Linked DNA regions of Homo sapiens: region 1 is linked to region 2. Evidence: promoter capture Hi-C in 16 types of primary human blood cells and fetal thymus (Javierre and others, 2016). All regions are on one chromosome and are shown on one strand. The core of a region is centred on a gene start or on the middle of the fragment in contact, and the rest is flanking DNA. Distances in the headings are between cores, read along the strand shown.

Region 1 (2,700 bases), core at 100-2,599, 150 kb before region 2:
TCCTGTCTGGAAGGCACCTAGTAAATGCCCAATAAGCATTGGTTGTTATTGTGAAAGAGCAGTAACTGATTCACAGCTGCTTCCATAGCACTTCCTGGACTCCAGCACTCACTCCGGACCAGGCTCAAGTTTCTGGATGGGTAGGAGGGCTGGCTGGGAACAAAAGAAAACAAAGGAAAGCTGATTTGGTTCTTTGTTCTGTGTAGCCCTGTGCTAAGCTTCCCCGTCCTCCAGCAGCTTGCACAGACCCTGGTTCCAGCACTTGGAGTTTTACTGCAATAATGCTCCATTATTGCTGTGTTAGAGTGTTATTATGTATTTCCATGTCTGTCCCTCCCCCTAGACTGGAAATGCCTTAAGGTTTCTTTAGTCCCAGGACCTAGATCAGTGCCTGGCATATAACAGGTGTCTTGTAAATGACCGTTGACTTCATGAGTGGGTTTTATGTATTGTATTGTACTGTAGTGTATTCTAGAGTATTGTATTCTAGAATATTGTATATGTTTGAGACAGTCTCACTCTGTCACCCAGGCTGGAGTGCAGTGGCATGATCTGAGCTCACTGCAACCTCCACCTCCCAGGTTTAAGTGATTCTTGTGCCTCAGCTTCCCAACATAGCTGGGATTACAGGCGTGCACCACCACACCCAGCTAATTTTTGTAAGTTTAGTAGAGATGGGGTTTCACCATGTTGGCCAGGCTGGACTTGAACTCCTGGCGTCAAGCAATCTGTCCGCCTCAGCCTCCCAAAGTGCTGGGATTACAGGCATGAGCCACCACGCCCAGCCAAATTTTTGCATTTTTATAGAGACGGGGTTTTGCCATGTTGGCCAGACAGGTCTTGAACTCCTGGCCTGAAATTATCCACCTGCCTCGGCTTCCCAAAGTGCTGTGATTACAGGCATGAGCCACTGCACCTGGCCTGCATGAGTGAAGAACTGAAAAAGGAGGACAGAAGGAAGGTTGGGGACAGGATCGAGGTTTAGCAGGGTGTCAGAACCACCGTACTAGCCAGTTTTACTGCAATAATGCTCCATGACAAGCCCTCCCAGAACACTGGCTTACATCAACCAGTGTTTATTCACATATTTTCCCCACTCATGAGTCTGTGAGTGGGGAGTCGCCACTCATAAGGCTGGCTCTGCTGGGGCTGAGCTATACTTGGCTCTGGGCTTAACCTTAGGTATGCTCCGTGTGTTTCTTCCCTTTCTTGGGCAAGTTGCTGTTTGGCATGTGCCCTTCTCATGGTGAATGGCAGGAGTGGAAACATGGTGCCACTTCAGGCTTTACCTTGGAACTGGCATGCTGTTGCTTCTCACATCCCATTGGCCCAAACTGGTCACATGGCCAAGCCCAATGCTGCTGGGTAGGGAAATATATTCCACCCACTCTCCTGCTCCAAGGTCACAAGGTAAGTCACATGAAGAGCTGAAGAACAATCTACCACAGCTTCCCTGAAACAAAACCCAGAACCTCTTATGTTCCTCCAGTGAGAAACTCTAGAAGAGTGGCTGCTGGTCCCTGAGTGCCACTTGTGGTCCTGATAGCCCTTTCCTCCTGGGTTTATGGCAGAAAGAGACAATTGTCCCCATTGCCCATTGCCCCTTTCTTTCTTTTAGTAATAGAACACTCCAGGTTTTAGTTAGGCATGTGGTGCCCACTAGGGGCCACATTTCCCAGCCTCCTTTGCAGCTAGATGTGATCATGTGACTAAGCTGTGGCCAATGGGATGATGCACAAATGCCACAGGCACCTCCTGATGACAGTTGGTATGAGGAAGCTGCATGTCCTCCCTTCCTCTGTCCTCCTTGCCTTGGGCTGGAATGTGGGCTCACATGGATGGTGAGGTAGCTTCAGCCATGAAGACAAGGACAACACTCCAGGATGACGGAGTAACACAGCAGAAGGAATCTGGGTGTTCACACAAGCTCCTGGTGTTTGCCCTGGTTGCCTGCCCAACCCTGGTCCCTAAAGTGAGAGAAAAATAAAATTCTCTTCTGTGTTATATTTTTGTTTCTTCCAGCATCTTAGCCTGTATCTCAACTCACATAAAGTCCCTCACTTGTCATCCCTTTGCTGCCCCTGCTCTGGCACCTAAACACCCCTTGCCTACCTTTTATCTCCCATTCACCAACGTGTGGACCCAAATCCCTTTTCTTGATTTTCCTTAGCAAAATGGAGACAGGATGGAGTTTTTAAAAATCGTAAACTACAAAGAGTAGTCAACGGCAAAATAGAACCCAAGAAATGAAGCAGAAAGCAATCAAGTTTCCATCACAGAGATACCTCGCCCCATCATGGCCATTACCCAGGGCAGTGTGATTGGGCTTTGCCCAGGGGGCTGGAAATTTAGAGGATATGGAATTTAAAACAATAATTGCGGAAAGTGATGAAAGTGAAACTGTTGTGACATTTTTAACATTTTGACAGCACATGCACCCCTGCATGACACAGAAACAAAGGGATTTGGCCCTTCCATAGGAAGCTTCCAGAAGGCCTGTGGTTAATAACACCTCCTTCATGATTCCTAGATGGAAAACCAAAGTTGGTTTGAGGGTGTGTTTCAGACCCTTGCCTGAGGCAGCCGAAGTGCCAGTTAGAGCTCTGTGTCCTACCAAAGGTGACTCACCCCATGGACTCTGCACCTTTTCACTCTCACCTTTCAGAATTTCCAACTATTCCGATTTCATGGCCACTTTTA
Region 2 (2,711 bases), core at 169-2,668:
GTCCTCCATTTTGAAGACGGAGGGTCCTGGCTGGCCTCCCATGCAGTTGCCCTTTTTAGCACCCCATAGTCCCAACAGGTTGTGAGGCGGGGAGGGCTGGGGTCCAGGAGCCTGGGCAGTGGACTTCTCTGCCACCTGGATAATGGCCAGAGGACAGGGAAGCTCTTAGTCTGAAGTGTCATTTCAGACGCCCCCATGGCCTCAGGATTCCTGCCAATTATAGAGCCAGATGCACACTGTCACCTGGGCTTCTCTGTGCAGGCCTGACCAGGAACCCAGGGTTCCTCTTCCTTCTCCCTCCCCTGGAATGAGGCAAGGTTGGGACTGGGGTGGCTGCTGAGGACAGATGTCCCTACTCCTGCACAGAGGATGCTGCTCTCCCCTCCAGGGCCTGGACTCAGCTGCACCCATGTCAGGGGCTAAAACTGTGCCGAAAACTCCCATTCCTTCAAGTGCCAGCTCCCTGGGCAGGCCGTGGGCAATGCACACTGCAGGGGTGCCTCTCTGGCCTTCCTCCCCACTGCTTTGTGGAGATCTGTCCCCCACACCCCCCCACACACCAGGGCTATCTTGCAGTTGGATCAAACCAGGTTCACACCTCAGCTCTTCTCACTACCAAGTTACTGAGTGCCTGGAACCTGTTTCTTCCCCTTCGAGCTGGGGGTTCACCTCCTGGGGATTCCATGATGTGGGTCTGTGTGGTGGGGACAGCCACCACCAGCATAGAGTGTCCGGTGCCCCACAGGTGCTGTTCTGTGGATGGGAGGCTCCCTTACCTTGTTCCCTTCCCAGTGGTACCAGCAGCTGGACGTGGCTCCTATATTCCCAGGAGGAGATTCTTTGAAACCTTTTCTTTTCTGAGCCCCTGAGCCTGTTCTGATGCCCTGATGCCATACCCTCACCACCCCAGCGTCCTCCCTGCCCTGGGCTCTCACCAGCGTCTGTTGCCTCATGCCTCTGCACCTGAATTTGAAGGCTGCACCAGCGAGCCATTCTTCCCCCACCTCCAGGCAAGACTGTTCCTCGACCAGTGCTGGCAGAGGCCAGCAATCTTCACTGGGTCTACCCCAGTCTTCCAAGCCTCCCAAAGAGAAGTTTCTAAAACCTCCCCAGGATCTTTTACTAAGAATTCTCTCCTCCACCCCATACCTTTGGTCTCAAAGGGGTGGTGGGGAGGCCGCCCTCCGTTCTCCGCCCGGTTCATGGTCTTGTTGTTCTCCAGCTCCGGTGGAGGCTCGGGGTACTCTCCGAGCTCGGGGATGATTTCCGTGGCATCATTCTTGAACGCCTGCCACCCCTGGCCCTCCACTACACGGAAGGCTGTGTGTACCAGCAGGCAGACGAGACACAGGGCCAGTGGGAGCTGCATGGTACCAGCCAGAGGAGGGCACGCCACCTTCCAGTAGCACAGGCTCTGGTCTCCAGCCGAGACACGGTCGCCTTTTTAAAGCCCCTCTCTGCTTCATGCCAGCCAATGAGGACAGGCTGGGGCAGGGCTGGTCCCATGTTTCCCTCAGCCCCGGAGGGAGGGAAAGGGGTGTGCTCAGAGCAAACCCTCCCCAAAGACTTCTCCTCTAGCTCAGCAAACTTCCAAATTGCTGCTGGCACTCCCAGGTGACCCAGAGAGAGGGGGCGTGTGAGGCAAGGCCCAAGCCTGCTCTCCGGCACCTCCCACGTGCTGGCGGCTGTGGTTTTCAGATATCAAAATGAGCTCCGGCTTTTAATTGTCTGTCTCCCTGGGCCCTCGGGCATTCTCAAAACAAACTGTGGACCCGCTCAACAAAGAAAATGTGCAGTTCTGAGTGCTTCGCGGGGCTGAGCCCGGCCTATTCCATTTCTCAGGCCAAGTTCATTTGTCACCCCACCAACAAATGGCCCAAGGCGTTTCTGTTTGACCCCCATAGACCCAGCCAGAGGCAAAAAGATGCTTTTAAAGAAATCCCATTGGTCCCAACTCCACAAGTCTCAGCATTCATTGTCCTAACCAAGAAAGCCTCTCTTGGTATTCTCTGGAAGGCAAGAGAGAGAACTAGAGGGTCAGAGCAAGGGTGCCCGCTTGGGAGAGAGGGCAGGATTCTGGTTACAAATCGAGGATGCGCTGGTCACTCAGGCTCCTGTGGTGGACAGCACAGAGGAAATCCCAGCTCATGCTCCTCAGGGATCCTGTGCACTGTGACAGGCACTTCTGAGCCAGGGCACTCACTGTGGCTCGCAGGGTGATGTGCTGAAGACAGTCATTTCCCCAACCAGTCTGTGTGTGTGAGAAGACAACACCAAATTCCTTTCCTTAGCAAAAGCCACAGCCAGCGTTTTTAGTGCTGACATTTTATTTTCTTGTCTTCCAGCTGGTTACATTTTTCAAAAACAGTTTTGAGTCCTGTATGGAAAGCTTCATTGGTGCACACCACAGGATGTGTTCCATGAAGCCATCCCAGGACCAAGTGGTCACAAAGAAGCTAAGAGAAAATGCTGCCTTGGCCCTGCATATAATGAGCCACACAGGGCCGGGGCGGGGGGCGGGGGGGCAGGTAGAGGCGTGGGGGAGAAGGATTCACACCTGAGGTGCAAGAAGAGAAAGGAAGGCCAGAGGAATCTTTCATTGAAGACAGATTGTTTGAGGACAAGCAGCTCCTGTGAAGAGGCTGCCCAGATCCTCTGGTATTTTAACTGGGCAATGAATCAGCATGCCCCACCTGCAGAGCCTCTGCAAG

What was found. The method cuts DNA at HindIII sites, captures the fragments that hold promoters and counts their contacts. A CHiCAGO score of 5 or more calls a contact.
Region 1: a fragment that was not itself captured here is called in contact with the fragment with the promoter of SOST in region 2 in 4 of 17 cell types (megakaryocytes, M1 macrophages, M0 macrophages and 1 more); the score reaches 6.0 in megakaryocytes.

Annotation. Positions count from the first base shown.
Region 1 is chr17:43,610,080-43,612,779 of GRCh38, forward strand. No RefSeq gene overlaps it. Among named protein-coding and RNA genes, the nearest start is that of MEOX1, 50 kb to the right of the region's middle. The HindIII fragment of the contact is 2,266 bases long and covers 217-2,482 here.
Region 2 is chr17:43,757,373-43,760,083 of GRCh38, forward strand. SOST (sclerostin) reads right to left here and starts at 1,419. Exons shown (of 2, transcript NM_025237.3): 1 at 1,150-1,419. The coding sequence starts at 1,369. The HindIII fragment of the contact is 6,420 bases long and covers 1-2,387 here.